2 separate regions of the Homo sapiens genome follow, and region 1 is linked to region 2. The links are contacts of gene promoters, found by promoter capture Hi-C in human tissues and cell types (Jung and others, 2019). All regions are on one chromosome and are shown on one strand. Each heading gives the region's core, a stretch centred on a gene start or on the middle of the fragment in contact. The rest is flanking DNA. Distances are from core to core; before and after follow the strand shown.

Evidence for each region. The method cuts DNA at HindIII sites, captures the fragments that hold promoters and counts their contacts. A contact is called where the count stands out against the background at its distance.
Region 1: a fragment that was not itself captured here is called in contact with the fragment with the promoter of COL5A1 in region 2 in 1 of the 25 tissues and cell types used here (mesenchymal stem cells).

What each region holds. Positions count from the first base shown.
Region 1 is chr9:134,685,850-134,693,466 of GRCh38, reverse strand. It overlaps COL5A1 (collagen type V alpha 1 chain), which reads right to left. Exons shown (of 66, transcript NM_000093.5): 2 at 2,388-2,555. Among named protein-coding and RNA genes, the nearest start is that of COL5A1-AS1, 37 kb to the right of the region's middle. RefSeq lists an enhancer at 3,887-4,677. The HindIII fragment of the contact is 4,164 bases long and covers 1,536-5,699 here.
Region 2 is chr9:134,638,049-134,644,649 of GRCh38, reverse strand. COL5A1 (collagen type V alpha 1 chain) reads right to left here and starts at 2,847. Exons shown (of 66, transcript NM_000093.5): 1 at 2,354-2,847. The coding sequence starts at 2,462. RefSeq lists an enhancer at 1,162-1,868. The HindIII fragment of the contact is 11,057 bases long and covers 1-6,601 here.

The DNA of each region.
Region 1 (7,617 bases), core at 2,368-4,867, 48 kb before region 2:
CTAATTCACAGAAGGCTCTGGAAGAGCAAGTGAAGCACTTTGGAAAACTTAAAAAAACATGGACTTAAAAAAAAATCCCGCAGACTATTCAGAAATTTACCCTAGATTATGTGTTGGTTTTTTTGTTTGTTTTGTTTTGTTTGAGACAGTCTCACTCACTCCGTTGCCCAGGCTGGAGTGCAATGGCGCGATCTCGGCTCACTGCTTCACTGTGTCACGGTAACCTCGCTCACCTAGCATCTGGTTAAAAGCCGGAAACAGACATGGAAACCAACTGATCTGTAGATAAGAGCCCTGCTCAGGGATGGGGTCCCTGCTGAGAGAGGCACAGAGAGCCTGCTATGCAGAAACTGCTGGAAGGCCAAGCCATTTCTTTCTTTTCCTTTTTTTTTGTTTTTGACATATTCTCACTCTCACCCAGGCTGGAGTGCAGTGGTGCGATCTCAGCTCACTGCAACCTCCGCCTCCCAGGTTCAAGTGATTCTCCTGCCTCAGCCTCCCGAATAGCTGGGATTACAGGCGCGCACCACCACGTCCAGCTAATTTTTGTATTTTTGGTAGAGATGGAGTTTCACTATGTTGGCCAGGCTGGTCTCAAACTCCTGACCTTAAGTGATCCGCCTGCCTCAGCCTCCCAAAGTGCTGGGATTACAGGGTGAGCCACCGCGCCCAGCTGATCCTAGATTATTTATCCAATAATTAGCCCGTATTCCTGAGATACTGTAATATTTCTGGCCACAAGATAATCCAGCAGAGAAGGACAAAGTCCAGTGAGTGTGTGGTGCCCACACCCCAGAATTGGGTGACACAGAGAAGATTAAACAAAGTGGCTGAAGATCCCCTTGGAAAGCAGGAGCGCTTACTTCCCAGGGTGCCCCTCAGCGTGTCACACACCCAGAGTCCATGTGGTCCTCGGCAATCAGCTCTCTAAGCCCTTCCCTGGACCAGCCCTCCCAGGATCTCTAGGTCACGAATTCTAAACCGGGGGTCATGGGGCAGAAAAGGGTGCAATTTCTGGGCCAAGGTCCAAGTGAGGATTCCATGGCTAATTCCAAAAGAGATGCTCTCCCAGAAGCTTATGAACGCTCCTCCAGAGGCCTGGAGAAACGAAACCGCTGCAGTCCTTTGCGGGGACAGGCTGTCTGAGCCGATGAGTTCCACACGCTTGAGGCTGGGGATCCACAGCCCAGGGCCACTCTGGTACCCAGAGGTGGGCTGTTTAAGAGAATATGGGCTGCCAGGGGTCCCAGGCCACTTCACCTCACCTCCACCAAGCTGCAAGGCAGAGACTCGGTGCCTCGAAGGTGTTTCTTGAAATAACTCGTTCTCAAAAACATTCTTGAAAAGAACTGCCCAGATTCTCTCAGAGACAAACTCTTCAAGGTCACATGGATGTAAAGGAGGGCTGGGCAATGGCTGGGGATGAGTGTACAGAGAGCACGTCTGTGGAAGCAGAAACAGCCCCTCAAAAGAGGGTGTCCTTCAGGGGCCCCGTGGGGACACGATCATCAGAAACACCACGGAGCATTCAAAGACTGCCCTGATCGTGGGTTCAATGCCGGGGTCACCTCCAGGTCCACCAAAAAGATGCTGCGCTGTCTTCTAATAATTACAGAGCATCTCATAAAGTGAACTCACCTGCCCTACATCCCCCGTCCCTTTCTCATCTGAATCAGAAAGAGGAGCTCATTTTAGTCCAGGCCATGAGCAAGTGGCTGGGTCAAGGCGATGAGGTTCTCCATCAACAGCTCGTTAATCACGTCCAGATAAGCCCAGAGGGTTTAATTAACTGTGGCAGGTGCCGCCCCACGACTGGGTGACAGGGACAACTTGGATGCTGTATCTTAGAGCTAATGCTGCTTCCCGCTCCGGGCATGTAATTAAAAGCAGAGACCCGGCATTTAGCAGTTGACTCTCATTAAAAGCCTCCCATGCTCTTGCTAGGAGTCACGACGTTTGATTCATCGTCTCTTAATGTCACTGCCCCTGGTTAAGCTTCTGTCTGGAAGTGCTTCCTTTCCCACGACCCCGAGGTTTCTCTCAACCTCATCCCTCAGGACCCATCCGACTCTTTCTGCCCTTGGAGTCCTGGCGGCCCAGCTACCACCAGAGACACAGCTGATAGAAGGTCAAGGGCACTGGGCCACACCCACCCACCCACATCCAGCAGAGAAGGACAGTGACAAAGCCCAGTCCCGTCCAGAAGGACAAAATCCCACTGTTGCAACTGCCTTTTCACTACAGTGAAACGAAGCCGGGCTCGTGAGAGGGGCTTCCTGGAAAGCTGAGCCCGCTTCTGCCACCACGCAGGCTTGAGCGCTGCTCCTGGCTGGAGGCCAGAGGGCCAACGGGACCCACCGCCCCAAACAGAAGGGTGCGGCACTTACCAGGGTACAGCTGCTTGGTGGGTGCGCTGAGCTGCGCGTCTTTGGTGACTCTGTAAGCGACATCCGGGCCTTTGGAAGATCGCCGCGTGGCGCAAAAGCCTGTTGTCTTTGTTATTCCATCAGGCAAGTTGTGAAAATCTAGAACCTTCAGGAGATCTGCTGGCTGAGCTGAAATGACAGAGGAGGAGCAGAGTTAGCCACGGAGAGGAAAGGAGCACCTGGGAACACCCGGAAGCTGGGATGACAGGAAGCACCCCCACCCCCACCACTGTGAATCCTGGGCACTCAGAAGAGCCCCAGGACCAGCTTAGAGCCGCGTGCTGGGCGAGGCAGGGCACCACGCTGCGGAGGAGGGTCCCATCCTTGTCCCCACCAGCAGCCACATACCGGGGGCAGACCCAGGCTAGCCCAGAGGGTCCCATCCCTGTCCCCACCAGCGGCCACACACCAGGGGCAGACCCGGGCTAGCCCAGCTCTGACGACGCCCTCCTTCCTCACTGCGCTCTCGTGGCTCCTGAGGCTGGCAGGGGCCACACACCCAGCCTCCCAGACACCTCTTCTCATTGGCCACGTAAGGAGAGCAGCCCAGGCAGATGCTGGAAGGCCACAGAAGGCCCACTGCGGAGCTGACCGCCTTATGGTGTGCTGTGCAATGACACAGGAGAACCGGTGGGTCACAACATCTGCCCTGCAGCCCTGAGAACCTTCACCCCACCTGAGGCCCCTCCAGAGGTCACGGGGATGTCACTGGCCTAGTTTATCCCCCCGTCATTATCCACCTGGACTGTCTGTCGCCTTCCCATGACCGTTTACAGCGGGTGTGCAGTTTCCATTGCCCTGGAAGACCCCTGCCCACATCGCCAGACCATGCAGAGCCAAGAACAAGGGAGGGGCAGCCCCCGCATCCCTTCCAGAAGGTTCCTGACCCTCTATCCAGGGGCTCTCAGGGAAGGGCAAGGGGATAAGCTGACCTCTGGCCACTGAAGCCGTGATCATTACCAGGGAGCTCAATGGTCACCCTCCAACACAAAAGACGGCCCCATCTGCCAGAGCCTCCTTCCCCCACACCACGAGGACCCCAGACCTGCATCCACCACAAGGCGCGAATCCAGGAACCTGCCCTGAACAAGGTCAGTTTTATGGGAAAAGCACTGCTCCTGTGCCCACGAGCAAGAGGCTCCCTGGGAGTCCCGGCAGAGAAAATAAACTCGAAGTTGGCATCACAGCGACAGAATGGTGTGTGTTGGGGCGGCCTGGGAGTTGGAGGAACCCAGCAGCCGGCAACTGCCCTGCCCAGTAGATGTGGACGGGGTTGGCCGTGCCCCCTCTGCTGGCCAATCAGAGCATGACACCGCCCTGTCCCAGACGGTCAGCTCAGGGATGGACGTGAGACCAGCCAGGATAAGGAAGCTCCGTCCTGGGGCTTTTTTCCTTTGAGAAAGAGGAATCCTCCCTGCTCTGCTGGCTCCAAACACAGAACAGGAACCTGGAGCTGCTGGCAACTGTCTCCTGAGCAGGTGGAGAGTGCTTGCCTGAGGATGCAGAGAGACAGACTGGCCACACTGTTTGAGTAGCTGGATCAAGCTGTGCCTGACAGAAACCGGTGTATCCCTCTTTATGCTAATGCCAATTGGAGTTAGATCCCAACATCTGCTACTAAACAGTGCCCATCTCTGGGTGCAGTGGTGTGGGCCTCCTCAGCTATCAGTTCCCCGCTCTCTGGCCTGGCCCTCCTCCCCAGGGAGGAATGGTGATCAGCCTGCGACGGGCTCAAGAGGAAAGTCCCACCTTTTTCCCAAGGGCAGAAGGTTTGGAGGTGAGATGGGATGGCCACGCAGGTTTCCTCTCTGCTGGTTTTCAAGGACTCCTGCAGCCAGGGGCACCTGCAGCCTCGGCACTGCCACGGGAGGAGGTGGCTGCCAGAGACAATGGCGCAGTGTCACTGCTTGTCCCAGCAGGCCCTCAGCAAGAGGAGCACCCAGACGGAGGACTCTGTCTCCCCAGCACTCCCTGTCCCTCCAGGGGACTCAGCGCGGGCACTGTGCTTGGTGCGCAGGCCACAAGGAGGTACAGACAGGAACCTGTGCCACCCCCACCCCCGCCATGACCAGCTGACAGTGCAGGGAAGACAGCAGCCTGGGCAGGGCTCTGAAGGAGACCAGGGTGGAGGGAAATCGAAGCCGCATTTCTCATTCATGAAGCCCCTCCCCATCCACAGTTCTCTGGAAGGCTCCACAGTACCCAGGTCCCAGGGTTCTGAAGTCCCTGCCTCTGACGGTGTCATTTCTACAGCTTGGCTTTGCTGCAGTCCTCTGCCAATTAAATCAAGAAGCCAGAAACATGGAGAAGCTGAGGATTTCCCACTGCGGCGTGGGAACAGTGACAAAGGGGAGGGGCGGCACAGGGACCCAGAACACCCCACGTCCAGGCCTCTCATGGCCTCTCTGTTTTCCTGGGTGGCTTTCGGCTGCCAAGCAGGGCACAGCCCACCCAGCTCTGTCACCCCCTCGGGCATGTATGGCACCTCCCACCTGGCCCCAGCAAAGAAGGCTTTGGTGGGCTTTTGCCTTTGACTTGAGAAGAAACGCTGAGTGCCAGTGCCTGGTGAGGCTGCACCGCGCAGCCCTGGGCCTGGATGCAGCCCGTGGAAAGAGAGGATGCGCCAGCTGCCGGTCCACCTGCTGAAGATGACACAGTGCCGAGCCCTGGGTCATCCCTAAGACTCAATTCCAGCACTGGCAGCGGCCGGGGCAGGGGAGCAAGGATCCCGGCCGGGGCTTCCTGGACTCACACCATAACAAGCCCGTGATGCTCTTCCCAGACTCAGGCTCGCAAGCCTGTTTTCTCCATTGCTGAAGGCAAGAGCTGTTTTCCAGCAGGCTTGGTGGACATGTTCGCAGATCTCTGTTGCAACAAGTTTAAGAGGCCACCAGACCTTTCCCAGGCCTAGTGCCACCCCTCCTGCTGGCCAGGGGCTTCCTGTGCCAGAGCAGAGGAAAACATTAAGTACTTTTTGAAAAAGAAAAGGTTGGGGAGAGCCCAGGAGGAGCCTGGCGCACAGCCTTTCAGGAGCTTTTCTTCCAGCCTCCATCAGGATGAAAACTCCACTTGGACACAGCACAAGCTTTGGGGACAGGTGGACATGGGTTTGAAGCCAGTGGCACCCCCCACCAGAGGGTGGATCCCAGTGGGTCAAGGCCAGTGAGAGAAGCTGCAGAATCAACAGTGGCCACCGCACACTGGCCCGTGCACTTCCCGGCTCAACAAACAAGAGCCCCTCTCTTTTGCCCTTTTCTCCTAGACAGCCAGGCAGGGGCCCATCACCAGCAGTTCCCAGAGGACCCACCGAGCAGCCCAGGTGCTCAGTGAAGACGAGATGGCATCACGCGTGTGGTCTCCACACCCAGCCCGGTGCCTACTCTTTAGTGAAGGACCATGCAGCTGTGCCCAGAGGTTCCTGAGACCGACCATCTGATGCACAGAAGGCCAGCTCCGAAAGCTTCATGAAACAAAAACTTTGTTGATTCCATGGAACCCTCGCCATGACCGGATCACCTATGGGGTCAGTCCATCACATGGTGGATGGATGGATGGATGGATGGATGAATGGATGGATGGATGATGGATGGATGGATGGATGGATGGATGGATGGATGGATGGATGAAGTCCCAGAGAATAGCAGGTGTCCTGCTGTGCCTTGGCCACCCAAGCTCCAGCCCTGTCTCCTCTAGGCACCATCCTGCTCTGCAGTCTGGGGAGCTAAAAACTACACTTCCCAGGTGCCTTTGCATAAGGATGCAGGGTGCAAATTAGAATCTGCCAATCAGAGAGACTCATGGAGCTGGACAGTGAGAGGGAGGTGGCAGCCTCCTCCGCCCTGGCACAGCCAGCAGGGCCATATCCCCAGACACAGCATATGGAGGTGATCCTCATGTCCAGACCCCCACGCATGCCACGGCCTGGGACCAGCTTCAGGGCACCAGGCGGCATTGGCAGCAGCAACTTCCTGCAGTCTGGGTGGCAGCCTCGCTATGGTGGTGCAACCCCAAATGGGATAGTGGAGTGGGGCCTCCTGACCCCACCACGCCGGGTCTCCCGGAGACTGTATCCACCTGACTCCCTGCATTCAATCCCTTTCCCCATCGTGGCTTGCTCCCATCAGCTGTGTGCACTGAAACCAGGAGCCTCCCTGGAACCACCTATGGGACATGGGCCCAGCACAAGGCCACGGGCATCAGAATCTTTAAACTACAAGAAGTGTTTACCCCCAGCACCTAGGGGTCAGGCATCCTGCACAGCCTCGCTTGCCCAGGGAATACCTCTTGTCCATCCCCGAGTTGATCAGAGTTAGAGAAGTTGGCCCCTGCATCCCCTGCACTGTTACAAGTAGAAGTATTTGTCACTGGCATCCCAGAGGCCCATTTTCATGAGGATATAACCAGGCATCAGGTCCCCAGACCTATAAAGGAATGGACGCCAGCAAGGTCAGTTTTAAGGAAGAAGGGAGGTGACTGAAAAGAATTTGATGGCCAGGCGCGGTGGCTCAGGACTGGAATCCCAGCACTTTGGGAGGCCGAGGCAGGCAGATGGCTTGAGCTCGGGAGTTGGAGATCAACCTGGGCAACATGGTAAAACCCCGTCTCTACATAAATACAAAAATTAGCTGGGCTTGGTGGCATGCACCTGTGATCCCAGCTACTGAGGGGCTGAGGTGTGAGGCTCGTTTGACCCTGGGTGGTGGAGGTTGCAGTAAGCCAGGATCGTGTCACTGCACTCCAGCTTGGGTGACAGAGCATAACCTGGTCTCGAAAAAAAGGAAGAGAAAGAAGAAGAAAAAGGAGAAGGAGAAGGAGGAAGGAAGAAGGAGAATAATTTGGAAATGAAAGTTTGAGTTCTGCGTGGGTGTCATGCACCACAAAAGGCAGCACAAAGACCCTGATAAGAAATACAAGCAAGACTGCAGCACTGGCACATAGGAGGAGCTCAACACAGACATGCAGGATGGACGGATGAATGGATGGATAGTGGATAAATGAATGGTGGATAGATGGATGAATGGATGGATGGATGAATGGATGGATGGGTGGGTGGATGGATGGCTAATGGATGGATGGATGAGTGGATGGATGGATGGATGGTGGATGGATGGGTGGATGGATGAATGGATGGATGGATGGTGGCTGGATGGGTGGGTGGATGGATGGATGATGGACGATGGATGGATGATGA
Region 2 (6,601 bases), core at 1,598-4,097:
AAACATCTGGCAGATCCGAAGATGGAGAAGACAGCAGGCACTTGCTGGTGGCTCCCCCCCGCGCCTGCCTCTCCAGTGGACAGCCGCCCCCTCCCCGCCACGCCTGCATTTCCAGTGGACAGCCGCCCCCTCCCCCCAGCGCCTGCATCTCCAGTGGACAGCCGCCCCCTCCCCGCCACGCCTGCATCTCCAGTGGACAGCCGCCCCCTCCCCCCAGCGCCTGCATCTCCAGTGGACAGCCGCCCCCTCCCCCCAGCGCCTGCATCTCCAGTGGACAGCCGCCCCCTCCCCCCAGCGCCTGCATCTCCAGTGGACAGCCGCCCCCTTCCCCCAGTGCCTGCATCTCCAGTGGACAGCCGCCCCCTCCCCCCAGCGCCTGCATCTCCAGTGGACAGCCGCCCCCTCCCCGCCACGCCTGCATCTCCAGTGGACAGCCGCCCCCTCCCCCCAGCGCCTGCATCTCCAGTGGACAGCCGCCCCCTCTGGCCATGCTCGAAGGATGACTTCCAAATAGGTCCCACCCTGGGAGGTGGAGAGACGTTGGCAAAACTCACTAAGAAAAGTGGTCTCTCCACATGCTTCTAAAAGTCTGTTCTGACAAAAGCAAAATGTCCAACTCCATAGCCTGCTGCTCTGGGCCATCCTCACTCCCACTTCCAACGAGCCGCACTTCGATTAGCGAGGGCAACCAGAGAGGGAAAAAGACAGTGTGGAGGTGGGGAGATGGGCAGGGAGGGAAATGGAACCCCAAGCCCAGTCCGGTGCATGGTCCCCAGGCAGTGCCCTGCCCCAGCTGTCTAGGGTGACGATTCCCCTGAAGGACTCCCTCCTGAGTTTCTGGGGAAAAGTCCCCAGAGGCGCTGAGACAGGGCCTAGTCCCCCGGCAATGGCACAGTCCCTGACCACACCTTCCTTCTCCTCTCCACTTTTCTGGGGACCTCTGTTGTCCCCCACCTTCAGCTAACCCCTGGAGAAACACAAGCCCAGTTAGCCCAGGGTCAGGAGAGAGTTGGTGGCGGCCCAGGGATGAGATCCCAGGTCCTGGGAGCCAGGCCAGGCTCCTGGCTCCTCCCCCAGAGCCCCAGGGCAGCCCCCACACCCAGACTCCAGCTCATCCAGTTAGCCCAACAAGCACTGATCGTGCCAGGGAAAAAGGAAAAGAGTGTTTTAATTGACAAGCGGAACACGGACAATGATTCTTCCCACTTGTCTTCCAATCGTGAAGCAGAGAGAAGCATTCTTGCTGGCAGGCGGCGGGCTGGTCCAGACGTTCGCTGAGCCCACCGTCCCATCGCTCTGCCCGCCACTTCTCCTGACCTGGCAGCACACAGCTCTGAGCCTCCATCTCCCCGCCTGTCAATAAGGATTCGGGGGACCTTCCAGGGCTGGGGGCTCTGATGTTCGAGAGTCTGTGAAAACCCACCCCGCCACTAACTACCAAGAGCGATGCCTAGAAAAACTCCCCCGTCAGGAAGCTGCGCCAGGGAGAGTTGAACCCTCGAGAACCCAGGCAGGGACGCAGACAGTCCCCGCCTTGAAGCGCCCTCCCCGGGAAGCAAGCCTCCTTCTAAGGGCTGACCCTTGGCAGAAGGAATCCCACATCTGCATATCATCCCAACCACTCACAGCCCCGCCTGCAAGCCCATCTCTGGCTTTGCTCCACGCATCCCATCTCTCAGCAGCGAATCCAGGAAAAGCTGCCTTCCAGGGATCAAGAAGTTTGGGGGTGGGATTAGGAGCAGGGCTGTCTACCACCCTGCAGGGGTCCCCAGTGCCCCCGAACACTTAGGTGACCAAGGCTGCAGGAAACGCTGTCCCTGGGGAAAGCAGGGCGCCAGCTCAGCCTAGAGTGACAGTGCCTGGGGGAAGTTCAGTGCTGGGGGCCCAGGCTTCTGGGATTCCCCCCATCCCCAGGAGTCCCGGGATTTGAAGGGCTGTAACTCTAGGGGGCGGCCCTGCCCGGTTTGGAGCAGAGGAAGTTCTGCTGTAGGGCTGTGAGGGCCCAAGCTGGGCGCCTGTGATGTGGGACAGAGAAGGAAGGTTTTTGGGACAAAAGTTTGCCCGCCTCGTGGACAACCCCTCCTGCTGATCCAGCCCTCGGTCCTTCCTCGGCTCGCGCGACAGCCCCACCCGACCCGCCCGTCTGGGGAGGGGGCGGCGGCGCGCCCGCGGGCATTGTGTCTGCGTGTCGTCATCTCGGGGGGGCCCCCAGCAAATGGCATTCGTGGTCTTGGCCCGTGCATTCCACAGGCCAAGGAAGAAAAGTTCTGCGGGCGAAGGCGCCCGGGGATGACAGCGGCGCCCGGGCTGCGCGCGCCCCATCCCGCAGCCCCGCGCCCCGGGGCGCCCTTACCTGCGCGGCTCGGAGGCGGCGCCCACAGCAGCAGCAGCAGCAGCGGGGGCAGCAGCGGGGCGCCCGGGCGGAGCGCGCTGCGCGCTTTCCAGCGGGTATGGACGTCCATGCCGGCGGGGCGCGGGCCGGGGCGCACAGGGGCGCTCGGAGGCGCGCGGGGACGCACAGGGGCGCGGGTCACGGCCCGGGCAGCGCACTCAGCAGGGACCGCACCACTTTAGGAGGTCATGGGGACCTCGGCACCCCCCGTTCTTCTTTGTGGCGGCGGCTGTTCTGGAAGGGGCGGCTGGCGCGCTCGCCCACGGGCGGGAGGGCTCGACTTTGGCCCGCGGGGCGGCCGGGACCCCGCTGGGCTAGCTCGCCCTCGCCTCCTCCTCCTCCTCCTCCAACTCCTTCTCGCCTCCTCCTCGCCGCCGCCGCCCCGCGACCCGCTCCCCGTGGGCGCTCCGCTCGAGTGAGGTCCTGCGCCAGCCGCGGGGACGGAGAGTGCGGACCTCGCCTTCGGCGCGGAGCACTTTTTTCCCCCTTTTCCTCCCTCCCTCTCTCCTGGAAGGCAGCCGCGGAGGCTGTCGATCCCCAACGCCCGCAGCAAATCAGAGCCCGGCGCTGGGCTCGGCGAGGCCAGCCCCCGCCTCCCACTGGGCGCCGCGGGCGAGGGGGTGGGGACAGCGGGCGAGTCGCAGCGAGGAAGGGGCTGGCCCGGGGCGGAGCGGACGTGGGGCGGGCGCGGCCCCCTGTTCTTTCTCTGAGAGCCGGTAGGCGGGCGGGCCTGGGGCGGCCTCGGAGCCCAGGGGCCCACCCTGGTCCCCCCACTGTTCCCACCCCAGGTGCCCGCACCTGGCCATGCTCCAAGAACCAGTGCAGAGGGGCCCCGAGGTTTGATCACTTCGGGTTAAAAAGAAAGTTGCAGTTTACCCCGCCTAACTTTTTCTTTAACGTGGAGGAGTTCAGAGCTCCTCTTCTGGGTGGAGACTAAACTTCCCATCCAGCCAGATCAGGGCGCCCAAGACTGTGGCCTACGTGTCAACCCGGACCGAGGACCTGCCTCCTAACTGCAGATTGGCACGGGACCGAGCTGGGGTCTGACTTCCCAAGAGCTCCCGGGACCTCCATGTGCTTGGACGGGAACATCTGGGTTATTAATCAGGCGAAGTTTGGCTCTGCGGCCCCCAGGCTCTCACCCCTCACTCCTGCCCACTCCCTGGTGGCCCCTCTGCAATAAAAAGGAAACCAAAGAAGGCATCCCCTTGGGAGTGACAGCTGGCGCAGGGAGAAGGCATTCCTGATCGGCTGCTCTCGGAGAAGAGCTGGGGCCCTGATTCTCCTGCCTGGCTTCTTTAAGCCCCTCGGGGTCTCCTCCAGCAGGAGGCCCGCCAGTCTCTGGGTGGTAGGTGGGCGTCTCTCCCTCCAGCTTCCCCAGGCCTGGCCTCCCTGCACAGCCTCCTGAAGCCTGACCCACACCCCTTCCCCAAGGGCTGCAGGGCTAGTTTTTTAAAAGGAGGGAATCAGAATGAATTAAGAACGATTTGCAAACCCTGGGCCATCCCCATTCCCTTTGAACAAACAATTTAGCCAGAGATGCCAGACAGGGCTGGGACTCCCCTCTCCAGTTACATCTCCAGACTGGGCGTGAAATTCCCCAAATGCTCTTTAATTCTCACCATTCTGGAAACAGGAGGTGAGAGAGGCGTCCGAGGTTAGGTTTGCCAGGATAGCCATGGCAGGCTCCGGAGCTGGGTGATAGGTCGCTGTTGCTAACTTGGTGATGAGGCTTTTAGTCTCCATATCTGCCACATGCGCTTGCATAGATATCAAATATTTCGCAGGAAAAGAATGAGAAGCTCTTCACACACAGACGTGGGGAGGTGCTTGAGATACATTCAGTAAAGCAAATGTTAGTTCTGACCTGTTTCCTTGTTGATTTTATTTTGTTTTACAACTTGTATAAGGCATATGTGATCAGGCAAAAATGTGTGTGAGTTGTGTGCATGTGTGTGTTTGTGTGTGTGCCTGTGTGCGTGTCTGTGCGTTGGTTAACCTGCAGCCACTGGCCCTTTACTTTCCCTGTGGACTTCAATGAGTGAGAAATTCCATCAAACCCCAGACTCCGCGCCAGCCCCAGCTGTGCTTGGTCCTTGGAGTGCCCCCGCCCCTACCAGCAAGGCCAGCTTCACCCCTGAAGACTAGGGGTGCTGACACAGGCCATGGCCTGGTTATCAGAAGAGAGTGGAGGCTTTCTGGTTCCAGCTTCTTTTTCCCCAAGCACAAGTGGAGTTCCTTTCTGACAGTCCCATGTGCACATCCGTGCCAGTCAGCAAGCCCTCCTGTAACTCACAGCCAGCATCTAAACTTTGCCCTGAATTAACACAACTGGCGCCTTAAGAGCTGACACTCAAGTGACCACCCCAAGGTCCCCCAAAAGTTGACTTCTCAGCAATGGTAAGATGGCTCAGTCTTGCAGCTCAAGCAGCCATGACAGATGCACTTTATCCTCTCTTGGAGAGCAAGTGGTGCGGTGGCTTGGAAAGCTGTCAAATGTGAGTTTCCACCCTCATCTGAGCCTTGAGTTGGGTGGAGAGATGAGTTTCTATCCCACCAGGAAACTCAGAGAGAAGTCCCCAAACTTGGCGGCCTGATGTGTCAGCCAGGGACTATGGCAGAATGGCCCGGCAGTACCAATCAGGATTCGAACTGTGTTGCCAAGCTAAGAATATCAGCCACATCTTAAGGCTTTTGCCTCACACTCTTCACCCACACGTGCATCAGTTCTCATGCACCGGTAGGGAATACTGGCATCTCTCCCATCCACAGATGAGGAAATCAGGGGCCACAGAGGGTAGGGGACTTACCCAGTTCATCCGTGACAGGGTCCGGATTTGGACCCAGGTCTCCATGCTTGGAGCCCAGTGTGCACTGCCTGCCTCCCCATGGCATCCGGACCACACGCCTGCCGCCAGGACCACCCTGCCCAGATTCAGACAACAGCAACTGGTGCAGATTGTCCCAAACTCACCATGTTCCATGCCCTCCCACAACTGAGCAAAACCAGAGTCCTTGGAAAACTGCTTATTGCGCGCATACTCCTTGCCAACACCGCTCTAGGCTTTAGGGAGTATGTGGTGAGCAAGGTGCCTGGGTCCCTTCCACATTGACCTGCAATGCAGCAGTGACTCCCACGCCCATGCAGAGGTGGCCCCTTTTTTGCATGTGTGTCTTCCTTGTCTTCTGCTATCCATCGTTTCCCATCTAGCCCTCCCCGGCTGCCTGCTCCTGTTCATGGCACTCACCGCAGAAGGCTAACCAGGTCCTGTACCCTGTGTACTCCTGGGCCACCGGGAGCGCCACCACCCATCACTGCGTGTTTCCCACAGTGCCTAGCAGAGAGTGGAGCAGGCCAGGTGCCCTGCACCTTACACGTGGAGTCCGATGGCCCAACTTCTCCTTCCAAGGCTGTGTTTCCTCTCATTTATTTTTCGAGCGGCAGAGCTGTGGTCCGGACAGAGCGGCCATGGCAACCATCAGGTGTTGCTCTCATGTGGACCTGATGGTTCACCACCAGTCCTGAGGGGTCACACCAGCCTCCCAGAGTCACGTCTGGCTGGAAAATGGCCAGCTGCTTCCCAAGACAAAGGCCTTGAGGGGCAGCCAGATTGTCCCTTCTTCTTCTCCTAGACCCATGGAGGAGGTGGAGGAACAAGGTCTTCTTGGAGTGCCTGGAGGCAGATATCTGCTTGCCCTCTAAGCATTTATGGTCCAGAGACTGCTGAAGTGGGCCCAGGAGGGCCTGGGTGAGCCACGGCCTGGCAGAGGGGCTGGAAGCTGCCCCACTCTGTCCCATGCAGGGGAGGAGTTCCCTCTAGCTGCGCAAGGAGAATGCTCTGAACCTGCATCCGGCACCTGGGGCTGCAGCTGTGTCCTTCAGCTGATGTCCTGGGACCAGGCCAACTCCAGAGTCACACAGACTTCCGTTAGAATCCCAGCAGCACCAGCCACTAGCCACATGACCTTGGGCAAGAGGATTCTGTCTCTGAGCCTCAGTTTGTTATCTGTGAATGGGCGGTGAAGAAACTGACCGCTGGGGGGTCCCTGTGAAGCTCAGATGAGAAGGTAGGTGAGGGAGGCCTGGCCACAGTCCCCTCCCTCCCTGCTCCCTGCCGCTGGGCACTCATCCTCTTCTGCCTCCTCCAAGCCCCCTGCCGCCTTCCAGGGCTTCACCTGCTTACCTGCATCATCTCATTCAATGGAGCA